Linked DNA regions of Homo sapiens: region 2 is linked to region 1. The links are contacts of gene promoters, found by promoter capture Hi-C in blood cells and fetal thymus (Javierre and others, 2016). All regions are on one chromosome and are shown on one strand. The core of a region is centred on a gene start or on the middle of the fragment in contact, and the rest is flanking DNA. Distances in the headings are between cores, read along the strand shown. Region 1 holds the start of ADGB (androglobin). Region 2 overlaps GRM1 (glutamate metabotropic receptor 1).

What was found. Contacts are between HindIII fragments. The CHiCAGO score rates a contact against its expected background, and 5 or more counts as called.
Region 2: a fragment that was not itself captured here is called in contact with the fragment with the promoter of ADGB in region 1 in 1 of 17 cell types (M1 macrophages); the score reaches 5.2 in M1 macrophages.

Annotation. Positions count from the first base shown.
Region 1 is chr6:146,594,187-146,600,421 of GRCh38, reverse strand. It overlaps ADGB (androglobin), which reads right to left and starts at 1,450. Exons shown (of 36, transcript NM_024694.4): 1 at 1,308-1,450. The coding sequence starts at 1,381. ADGB-DT (ADGB divergent transcript) reads left to right here and starts at 1,491. Exons shown (of 3, transcript NR_125860.1): 1 at 1,491-1,589; 2 at 2,251-2,352; 3 at 3,918-5,906. RefSeq lists a silencer at 1,355-1,649. The HindIII fragment of the contact is 3,644 bases long and covers 1-3,589 here.
Region 2 is chr6:146,348,963-146,355,197 of GRCh38, reverse strand. GRM1 (glutamate metabotropic receptor 1) reads right to left here. Exons shown (of 8, transcript NM_001278064.2): 4 at 2,702-2,948. Among named protein-coding and RNA genes, the nearest start is that of RAB32, 190 kb to the left of the region's middle. The HindIII fragment of the contact is 152 bases long and covers 2,941-3,092 here.

The DNA of each region.
Region 1 (6,235 bases), core at 201-2,700:
TGACTCAGGGAGTGGAGAGAAGGCTAGTGGAAGGTAACTTTAGAGAAGTAATACAGGCCTGATTCTGAAGGGCGTCCTCGGCCTTGGACCTAGAGGAATGGAAGCCATTAGACAACGCTGAAAAGACCTGACTTTGGTACACAGAAGTAAAGCAATCCTATTAAAATTACATATGTAATATTTATATAAAATTATATATGTAATATTACTTATATATGTAATATCTAAAATTTAAGCTAGTAAAAGGAATGGATTATCTGCCGGGTAACTGGAAACCTGCTTATGAGAGAGGTTAGAACTAAGGGACTAGAGATTCACAGACATGGGAATGAGTCTGGGAGAAGAATTCACAAAGAAAAAGAGTTTAAATCCTAGGGATCAGTGAATCATAGGGATCAGTCCAATGTGGAATTCTTCAGCCAGGGAAGGAAATGGAGAAACAGGCATCAAGGATGTAAGAATTCAATTTGAAATGATTGATTGCATCGCCCTCCCCATCAGGCAGAGCATGAAGAACATGAATGATCCCACTGAAGCAGGGCGGGCAGCTGGGATTCTCTCACAGTGGGAATGAACATTAGAAATGGTGTAAGTTCAAACAGCCCCAATCCTATGCTGTGGATAACTGGATATCCCTAGGGAAACAGACCACAGAAAATAATAATCATGGGGAAGTACATCCTAAGACACAACACCTAACACCAGCCCAGGACAAAGGCACCATAAAAATTCCATGAGCGAGGGTCTGTTTACTTTCTCAGAGTAAATGTTAGTAACATGAACTATACATTTATAATGTTTTAAGGTTTAGAAGCCACTTTACGTCTGACTATATCTGATTAAAGATCGTAGTCGTTGGACTGGGCAGATGCAAACTAGAAAATCACCATTAAGGTGAAATGTGTCCATGTCTGTCTGTCACTCGCTGTCTGTATCATTTCCGGGGCCATGAAGATGTGGCTTTAACCAGAAGTATTTGAGATATGCCTCTTTCTTAGGAAAGCTATGGCCTTTCTAACTGCCTGAGAGGGCTATGAAGAAGAGGAGGGGTGGCAGATTCACCCATGGGAGCTGAACACCCAAAGCAAGAAAATCAGGGGCTCTGGGAAAGGAAGTGAGTCAAGACAAGCAAGAGAGAAGGATGAGAGCGAGCACCTCCAGGATCTGGTTTACCAGAGAAGACAAGCTGCGAGGAGGCCACTAAACTTCTGCCCTGGCACAGTTTGCTGCAGGGAGGCAGCCCCAGAACTAGTGGTGAGGTCGAGGGGCTAGGCCAGGGGAGGGACGGACAGGCAGAGGTCCCTTACTCTTTCGATTTATCCGATCCGTGCGCCGAGTTGATACGATGCACCTCTTTCTTTTTGGTTTGTTTGGAGGCCATGGCAGAAGCCGATCTATGTAGGGCTGAGCTCTGAGCAAAGAGCCTGCGGGCGCGCTCGGCTCCGCGTCTGCGTTGCCAGGAGACGGCGTCCCGCGTCCAGCGCCCGGAGAGCGGGGGCGGGGCCCTGGGGGCGGGCTCTGCGGCCTGTGGCTGCAGAGGGACGCAAGAGCATAAACTGAAATCCCACATCCCCGTGGAGGAACTTGGAGTTGGTGTCTGGGGAGAAATCGAGGTTCTGGGGCACGGGTTTGGCATTAGGATTACTGGGCAGCCCTGATTAATTGGAGTTCTGCAGGACCTACACTGCCTGGCTTTGCCCTTCGGAACCATAGACATATATCGACTCTTGAATATCCAACTATTTGAACGTAGATGTTATCCTAGTACCACCCCAGTTATTCTCTTGGCTAAATATAACAAGTACCTTCAATAATTACTAAGGAGACATTACAGACACGCTGAAATTGTCAATGGCTTGAAAACCTGGGGTCCAGAAATTAACACAGTGGGTGTAAGGAAGGCAAAATAATGACACCTTGAGTCGCTGAGGGCTAGGTGATGATATCTGTAATAAAACCAATAAGGTGTCTTGTTGTTCGAATGAAAGAGTGAGTCCAAGTCATGGGCTCAGGTGGTCCTTTGCAGACTTTCCAGAAAAGGTCCAGGGGCCAGATGACACAGACAGAACCAAGTAAAATGAAACTTATTAGGGCGCAGGCTTAAGGCTCAGTCATCAGTGGTGATTTGTTAGTTATCTTGCCTTGGGCTAGTTTTTCCCTTTGAGTCTCAGTTTACTCACTTATAAATAGGAGATGCCTATTACTCACTTATAAATAGGAGTTATACCTAACTCACAGTTCTGTTTTGAGGATAAGATGCAAAGCGCAGCAAATAGGAGCCACTCTTTCAGAGATGACAGACCACCTGGTTTCGAGGAGCAGCAGACAGCGTGAATGAATGAAGTTGGCCAGGTAAATACAGAGTAGTGGATACTATGCTTAACTGAGACATGCTTAGACTGCAAGAGCTTGCAAATTTATCAAAACAAAACAAAATATTGTGTTGGTTCAATATAACCTCACTTCAGAGATATCTGACACACAGCCCTTAGGCCTAGGACCACTACTACTGGTTGGTGTCTTTCATGAGCCTAGAAATAGTTAAGTATCTTTAAATAAAAGAAATCCCCTCCACTCATGGGACTGGGCACATGCTCACAGTTCCACCTGTGCAGGCAAGAGGCAGCTTCCTGCAGAGAAAATCTTTCAACTTCTCTGACAAATGAATGCTCAGGGCTCTCCACTCAGCATAGCCTATGGTTTGTCAGACTATCCCAATCTTATTACTATTGGATTACTACTGGGGGTTACCTAGATGACAGACAGCCCCTTCGTTGTATTTCTATATGCAAAATAAATAAATTCCAAGTCAGCAGTGTTAATATTATGACTACAAGACTGCCCTGCAAACATCTCCTATATATGTAAAGACAATGAACACATCATGAAGATTCTGCTTTGTTTATACCATAATTCAAATTTCCAGAGAACTCTCTTGAATGAAAGTAGAGGACTAAATGGTGAGAAAAATTATTTACTACCAAATTTTGTCAGAGTAATCAAATTTATAGCTATAAGTATATACAAAGACTCTTGGCTGAAAACAGCACAACTTTAAGCAGCCAACCCCACAGAGAGGTGAGTTTCTTCTTGAACAAGGGCTATCCTGCAGCCATTGTTAATGGCTGCAAGATGCCAAAAGAATTAGGGAAGATAAGCCTTAGAAATCAAAAGATCTACATCCCACCGGTATTTTATGGACAAATAACTCCAGGCGAAGACAAGCAAAATGTCTTGCCAAAAGTTGCTGGGTTATTTATTGATGGAATTTGGACTAAACACATTAAAGTCAGCATTGCCAGTTTAAGCCAAACATATCACTACTCCACTCAGAGCTTGCTTTTTAAACATCTATTAAATTAGGATAAAGTAAGGGGGTTGTCACCAGAATGGAATAAGATAATCATAAAAGATGTGACGAGTATAAGTTGCCTATTAATTCCTACGCCAGTGTTCTTTCTCCTTTATTATATTAAGAGTGCAACATGCATAAATGGAATTTCTCTTCTTTCTGGAGCTAAGGTTCTGGTCAGGCTGTAATTATAAGAGCAAATCTGTTCCTCTCTAAGATAGTTCTAGCTACAAAGCTTAACATGATATTTATTGTGGCAGTGCAAAAAAGACAATAGGTCCTACTGCTGTTTTTATTTTTCTTATAACTGTTGTCAATGTCACTTTGGAATAATAATAATAATAGCTGTGATTTATTGAGTACCTACTACATGCAAGGTTTAGGGAAGGGTGCTAACTCCTTTAGAGATAAACTTGAATTTAAATCCTGACTCTTGTTGGGTAATTATGGGTGAGTTATTTAACTTCCATTTTCTTTATTTGTGGAAAGGGAAGAATAATACCTCAAATATGCTTGACTCATCCCAAGCATTCAGAGAATTATAGCTAATGTTATTATTCCACAGGTAAAGAACTGAAATGCAGACAGGAAATGGGACTTGCCTGACATGGAGCAGGTGGTAGGTGGCAGAGGAAGATTGGCCACTCCATAACCTGTGCTCTCTCCAATTCTCTGGACTAACTGTCCATACAGATGATTGCCCTGGGACTGAGCTTAGGGATTTCCAAACTCTTGCTATTTAACAACTGTCAAAGACTGAGAAACAGGGCTTATATTTTATTCAAGCTACCCAGAATAGGGCCTCTCTCTAATCTATACTTCCTTTTCGGGGAAGAGATATTTGGCTTCAGGCAGCAGTAGCGCCTGCTCCCTAGGGAAGTGGTTAGAGGTACCCACTTCCCCATATCAGCAGAAACAAAACAGGCAGGAGTCTCTCTGCTTGAGGATCTGCCTAAATAGGGAAGTGAGAATTGGCAACCACTTCTCCCTCCACCAATGGGAATCCTAGATGGAGGGAACTGGGTGGGAGATGGCAGGGGTGGGCAGAGTGGCAGCATTTCTGTTTCTTAAATCCATAACTCCATCTTCAGACACTTGATTCCACAGCCATAGGGAATTGTATATATTTTGCTGCTCAGCTACCTCTTTGCAATTAGGTCAATTATAAAATTACTTGGAATTTAACCAGCCAAATGAGAAAGTATGCATTCTACATGTTCTGTGTAAGGTTGAATTTAACTGTCACTTCAAGTTCTGTTCTTTTCACATTTCCATGGAAATTTACACCCTTCTCCTTTATTTCCCACAGAACTTTATTTGTTCATCTTTTAAAATTCCTATAATATTCTGTCTTGTTTTTATTAATACTTATGCCTTGTTTTTTCTCCTTTACTAGACTGTAGGGTCACTCAAAGCAAAAACTCCTCTTCTACCAAATTCATTCACACTTTTGAAGCTCCTAAACCCTTAATAATAAGAGCTTACATTTGTTGAGCACTTGCTATGTGCTTGACCCTCTTCTAAGCTATTTTTCTGTATTAATTCACTTAATCCTTACAAACACCCTAGGGATTTGCTATTATAATCTCTCTTTTATAAATAGGAACATAGGCAAAGAGTGGCTAAATTAAGTTAGTAAGTGATCAGGCATGATTCAAACTCATGGCTCTAGACCCATGCTCTTTATAACCACATTATTCTGCCTCTGACACCTTCAGTGATCACAACCCTATGAAGTATGAAACTCTGCCCATTTTATAGCGAAGAAAATGAGCTTTAGAAAGGCAAAGCAACTTGCCCAAAGTCCAAAGCACAGGGGGAATGGAGTCAAAATGCATAGGTGAACACTTTGGTTTCAGAGTGCAGGCTCCTAAACTCTCTGCTACATACACACTGCCTACTTCAGAGTTCAAAACATATTTACTTCAGATCATTGGAAATGGTATTAAAAATCACAACTGACATTCAGTTGTGTCCAGTAATATTCAGTCTCTACACCTGTTAAGGAGAAGTTGGATCCTGCAGATATGAAACCTGCTGGCCCTGCCACAGAAAGCCCCGTTATTCTGGGAAAAATTGAATTTATAGTTTTAATGACCTGTGAAAGGAAATTCTGAATAGAGGTTCTTTAAAAAATGGGGGATATGGAAATAAGTTATTAGTTGAAAAACAATTTCCATTTTGATAAGCTGCTTCAAGAAGAAGCAATGACTAACTGTAACTAAATGCTTCATCAGGATGCAAACAAACCTATTTTGTACAATGCTGCAATTATCTGTGCAGCAGATGGGTGGTTCTGTTTCCCCTTCTGGACAGAGACACTCACCCTTTGTTGTATACTTGCACTGAGAGCTACATGTGTCCCACTAGTTTATGTAAGAAGGGGATATAAATGGGGCAACTCTGAAAGGTGCTTCTCTCTCCAGAACTTCCCTTATGACCCATGAAGGCTTCTGTTACAACTGCGTTGCAGTTTAACTTCTCCTTCTCCCCAATCCTGCTTCCCCTACAGATGTTATTGAGAATACTCACTAATAAACCTCATGCATGCAAATCTCAGAGCACCAGAGCCTGGTTCCTGGGAACTAGCTTGGAACAGTGTTAGTAATAGGGATGATCCTAGGAAGCAGACTCTAAAATGGGATTTGGGAAGACTTCCACTTCCAAGCAAGATGAAGTAACAGAGAATTTACCTTCTCTCATGAAATAATTAATAAACTAAAGAAAATATATGAGGATATTGACTGTCAGACAATAAAAGAGAGTGATACCTGGGAGATGGAAACCAAAAAAACTGAGCCTTTTAATTGTCCCATCTTACTGCTAGGTTGTGGCACAGAAAAGGGGAACCTAGGCAGAGCCTGATGGTGGCCCTGATTGGGA
Region 2 (6,235 bases), core at 1,767-4,266, 250 kb after region 1:
AGTGCTTGATGTGAGTAATTTCCATTTTCATTTCCAGGAATTTTTGTGTTTTATTTCAGATTACATTAATACAGCTTCTCACATACAAAGAAGGCTTTGCTGCAATGCTGGCTCTAGAATGTCTTTTTCCTTTAAATCAGTTTCCAAAGACTTTTATTTTAGCTTCCTCATTTGCTTTTTCATAAGAGAAATCAGTTCACACTTCATTAGCATTTAGAAACAAAAAAAATTCACAATATTTTGGTATAAAACACATTTTTTTAAAAAGTCCCAAAAGCTGGGAAAAAAACTATGGAAAAATATCCAGGGAAAAATACTGACTTCATTTTAAGAAGCCTTCCTCATACTGTGTGTATTACTGAACACTGCCCTTTTCCTTTGACCCCAGGGTTCCTTCCAGGCATGTTGGTTTTTATTTTGGAATTTTTATGCTATAAATTACATATTTACAACATCCTCTCAATGCATTCAGTTTACATTGTGTGATGATTAACTGAAATAATTACAAGAGGGACCAAAAGCATGAACGATGGTATGACAGGAGGAGGAAGTACAGGGAGATTTTTGAAACAGAAATTGAAAACGGATTATGCCAACCAATTGCAAGCAGAAGGATATGATCCCTAAGAAAAGACCCAGGGGAAAGCTTAAGTAACATTTGAATATTTAATTAAAGATGGAGAAGAAACAAGCTAAAATTATGCACCGACATTTTAGATAACTTGTAGAGAGAGAAGAGGAGTAAACTTGAATACATGAAGTGTCAAAAATGCATCTGGCCTTGTGCTAGGCACATTGTATGTTATCTTTGGGAATCATGAAGGAAGGTTTACATTCTAATTCTGACCCTTATTGAGCCTAGGGTCCAGTGGGACACAGGATGAAAGAGGGTTTACAGAGGCAGGTAGTCAATGTTCTGAACCTCAGACTCACTTGTTGCTCCTAGTACCATTTCCTCGAAGCTTTTCACATGCCCAGTTCCTGAATCATTCCATCTACCTCACTCGCATTCCAGTCAAAACCTGCTCCCATCTAACTAGCAGCTTGGAAGAAATCTGATAAATTGATCATTTTAATTGCTGACAATGACTGATATCGTTTATCCTTCCTAGAGCTGTCAGATTTTAACAGGGAGAATCCACTTAGCTCTCACAAGGTACTCCCTAAGTGCAGGACTTCAAGCTGACACAAACAGATACATGGAGACTTACTTAGGGTCAAACAGTCCCTTACAGTACTTCTGAAATGACATTAAGAAGGTTGCCAGGCCGGGCAAAGTGGCTCACGCCTGTAATCCCAGCACTTTGGGAGGCCAAGGTGGGTGGATCACTTGAGGTCAGAAGTTCAAGATGAGCCTGGCCAACACGGTGAAACCCCATCTCTACTAAAAATACAAAAAAAGTAACCAGGTGTGGTGGTGCACACCTGTAGTCCCAGCTACTTGGGAAGCTGAGACAGGGGAATCACTTGAATCTGGGGGACAGAAATTGCAGTGAGCCGAGATTGTGCTACTGCACTCCAGCCTGGGCAACAGAGTGAGACTCTTTCTCAAAAACCGAAAAGAAGATTGCCAGCCACGTTGCCTAATTTTAGGATCTGCTAAAAGGCAGTGTGATGTTGTAAAAGATTAGAAGCCTCAGAGTGAGAGCACTTGCCTCCACCGCTTGCAATCTGTGGACATTAGGTGAGTTCCTTAGTTTCTCTGATACCCAGTTTTATTATCTGTAAAAGAAAGACAATGATCCACCTACAGCAATGAAGATTAAATGATTTGATGTTCCACTTGAACACAGCATATGCTTTTCTAAAAAGCTCTAAGTCTGGGACATCGTAGACTGACAGGTGACAGGGCCTATAAGACCCTGGGCTTGCTGAGTGGTAGCCAAGCTGAGGGCCTTTTTCCTTCTTCCTGAAGGTGTTAATTCTTCTGCCATTCTGATTATGCCTTTCCTAAGAAACTGTTTATGAATGAACACAACTATTCTTGATACTAACAAAATTTCCTATGTACCAATTATGCTTGAGCTAACTGGTAGTATCAAAACAAGTATTGCAGAGCAGACTGTATGTAAAACGGCTTGGAGAGGATTTTATGTATATACCTTGGTTTACTTTTCATCTGCTTTTTGTTTGATTAATAAGCCATAGGGGCTCAATCCCAAAAAGAAAGTTGTTTCCTTTCTTGCTCCAAGACATATGTTAGCACAAACATAGGTTAGCCTGAGGAGAAGGGACACATATGCAGGACTTAGTTCTCTTTGCATACTGAGCTCTTTAACCAGGTGTAATATTCAAAATATTTCATAACCAGAATGGTATATAGTCAATCAATCAGAAAGATGCTGGCCTGGTGCTGGCAAGGTCTGAGAGGTTTCTGCTGGCCAAGTGTAATTTCTTTAGGTTCCTGGGCTTGCAGGAAGGTCCCAAGCATTCTGGAAAAAGGGTCAAGTGATAGGTGAGTTAGGGGATGGCACTGGTAGAATACTGGGTATTGGGTGTTGAAAAAGAAGTATTTTAATGTCTTAAAAAGTGGTGTGGTCTTTGGTAATTTCATCTGATATTATCCCTGGACTTTTTGCTACCTAGTTGTATCTATCCTCATGGCACCCAGAAACCATGGAACCAGATGAAGCCACAGTTGCCATCTGTCTGGCACAGGAAGGCTCACAAGGTTACTTAGATTGATTACTGAAAAGATTACCTTCCAGGAGCGTCTCCTTTCTCATCAAACCACACCTCCTCTCCAGATACTCCAATGAATGAGGACTTGATGAGGAAGTCCAGCAGCTTGCTGCCGTCGATGGGCTTCATGGCATCGCAGAGGCCCACGTGGCCAGGGCAGAGGGCATGGTGCATGTTCTGCAGCCCATGTGCCATGGCATAGATGGCATTGATGACAAACCCCATCTTACTGTCCTGGACATAGTTTTCTTCTAAGCTTTCATTGCCTGTAACAATAAAAATAGATCACTACCAAGGTCACAATGATAAAGACTAGGCTCCCAGGTTTAATTCTCAAATGCTTTTGGGGGTTCTCAGAGGAAGGGAATGAGCAATGACACTGGCAGAAGCCACGCCCACCTGTGCAAGCTTTGTACTTGTGGCTAGCTCTAGCAGATTCCACCTGCAAATGATTTATTCAGTTTTATTCTCTCTATTCGATAATGGTTTTATGAGATATAAAACAAACTCCACAGAGGCGAAAATAAAGGACTTTTGAATATTGTAAAGAAATCCTGAAGGAGTAATGGAAATAACTCTTACTCCCTCTTTGTTCACAGGAACTTATATTAAATATCTTCCTATATCATGGTACTGGAAAAACATTTTTTGATTCCTTTATGACAATCTACAGTTTACAGGAATTCAATTTATGCATTATCTAAACCATGGTATTTTCTTTTGGTGATTCCACTATTTTTTTTTCATTTCTAGGGCCACAAAAATCCAGAGTTAGAACTGGTCAGTATGAATCTCTTCTTATATACGGTTGATGGGGCCGAAATATTTAAATCAGATTTGCTAGTTATTGGAAACTCAGGTAAAATGTTTCTTGATGGAAGAGTCACACTACACATTAATTTTAGCCTTTAGATTTTACCTGTGAATTTCAAAAACCCTGCAATCATTTCTACCTATGTCACAGGTGATCAAAAACTCCCCTACTGCCAAGCAGGTTTGCAAGAATGGTATTGTGTTAGATATAAGCTCCATATTGGAAGCCTAGACTTCAGGACTTAGATATGGATGAGAAATTTTGGGACCAACTGGGTTTGCTGAAATAAAGGTAAGAGGTTTGGAAAACAAAAAATATATTTGGAAAACATCACTGGCATAATTCAGAGACTTTAGTTGGTTCCTGAAATTTGCTTCTCTCTGCAGTGAGCATTTCCTCCCTCATTTGACTGATAGTAGGGGGTCGATGTGATGTGTGTTTGAAGTACTAGAAGGTGGGAAAGTCAGCAATTTAGCTGCATATGGGGTTGAGAACAACATGGGGCTCCTCACACTCCCTGCCAGCTGCCCTTTGTTCCAACCTAAATAGGTCACTGGACACTAAGGTTCCCAGGCTAAGACTAGCAGAGAAATATTTAGGATGTTAGACAGTTTGAGTCTTTAGAAGAAACGGTAAAGAGTTTTGACTTTGATATCGAACTTGGGATGAAAATGGACATTTTTAAAGAGTTCTATTTAAAGGCCTATTTAGATGTAGTCAAAAGTTTGAAAAGGATATCCTTATATCTACCCTGAGAGTGACATATAAAATACCCAGGCTAGGTTAAAGGGGAAGAAGATTAGATTTTAATCCATTTTCCAGCTTTGCAAGATAAGACATTGTTAAAAGTGTAATTTGCTAAAGCAATATTTTCCTGATTTAAAGGAAATTTTCCAAGAGGAAATGAGGAGTAAGATAGAGGAAGGGCATTTTAAAATCAAACCACACAAAATAAGTATAGAAAGTTACATAAGAAAGAAAAGATCCTCCTTCCAAAAATTGCAGATTCATTTAAACAGAGTAGCTTATGTCTGTCACTCAGAACCCATGGCCCTTACTGTTGGTTTTCTTTCTCTCCCTCTCCAACTTACTGGGACCATAAAAGAGGTAAATTTGTGCCATCTGCCTGATAACTCTTAAACAAGCCCTTATAGGCTCGCCTAGAACCCCAAATGCTAAATATTAAAGCTACTAGAATCATAGAAATTACCAAGAGTTAAAGAAAAAAAAAAACACAAAAATTGAGTGGCAAAATAACCTTGAAGACAGCAGCCCCTTAAAGTGTCCTGTCAATACTAAAACCATCACCCAAAGTTGCAGTCATTACAACCAACAACAGGGTCAAACTGTAGAAAAATATCAGAATAAATACACAATGTTCTTTACCAAATGAAAAATTATCTGTTAGACACAAGCCTTATGGACACTGAGTTTGCTCTTCTTGTTTTTATAACTACTATTTAAGATTTATTTTACATAGATAAAAAATTATGTTGGTGTCCCCAGTACAAATTTCTTAAGCCAGTGCCAGTGGTTGTCTAGTGGATACTTCATTCATCAGCACTGAGACAGGAACTGTTCTTGGATATCTGTGAGATCAGTCTTTTCCTTTTGATCCTCATTTAGGGTGATCATAGAACTTATGACTTGGGTCGTTTTTTTAGAGAGAAAGTTAGTGTTAGCAACAATTATTTTGAGAACACAGGTGTAAATAAGGCAAACCAGGAAAATTGTGTCATCTCTCTTAAGTCAGGTGCCTTCTAACTGTGTCTTATCTTCTGAGGTTATTAAGGGTAAGATTAACATAAAAATATGTATGTATAGACACACGTAAATATATGTACATAGATGTATACATATGTATATACAAACAATAGTCAGTAGAATGTCATTATTTTTTAACTAATTTCACAGTTATGTAATTTTTTAAGGATTTGACAAATATTTATTCATACCTATGATACATCTGGCACTGCTTTTTTCAATGGGGTATTATGTAGACAAAACATACAAGAATACCTGATGTCTCCGGACTTAAATTCTTGTAAAAGGCTATAGAAAATTTCTAAAAATTAACACAACTAAGAAAATTATGTAATAATTACAATCAAATCAGTGTTACAGAAAAAAATACAAGAGAACAGGAAAGAAAAAGTGGGTATGTTGAGACAGTATCATGTCGATTGGTTAGAGTAGACCTCACTAAAAAGAGGAGCATTGAGTGAATAATTGAAGAAGAATAGGGAGTGAATCAGGCAAATATTTGGGAAAGAGCATTTAAAGTAAAGGCAATAGCTTCATATCTACAATAATACTAATACGGCCGGGCGTGGTGGCTCACGCCTGTAATCCCAGCACTTTGGGAGGCTGAGGCGGACGGATCATGAGGTCAGGAGATCGAGACCATCCTGGCAAACACAGTGAAACCCCGTATCTACTAAAAATAAAAAAAAAATAAAAAAAAAAAAATAGCCGGGCATGGTGGCAGGCGCCTGTAGTCCCAGCTACTCTGGAGGCTGAGGCAGGAGAATGGCGTGAACCCGGGAGGTGGAGCTTGTAGTGAGCCGAGATCGCGCCACTGCATTCCAGCCTGGGCTACAAAACGAGACTCCGTCTCAATAATAATAATAATAATAATAATAATAATAATAATAATAGCTACCACTTCTTGTTTGTTATATACAATACTTAATAAATGAGCTATAATGCTTACTATAATCCTGCCAACTAAACATTAGT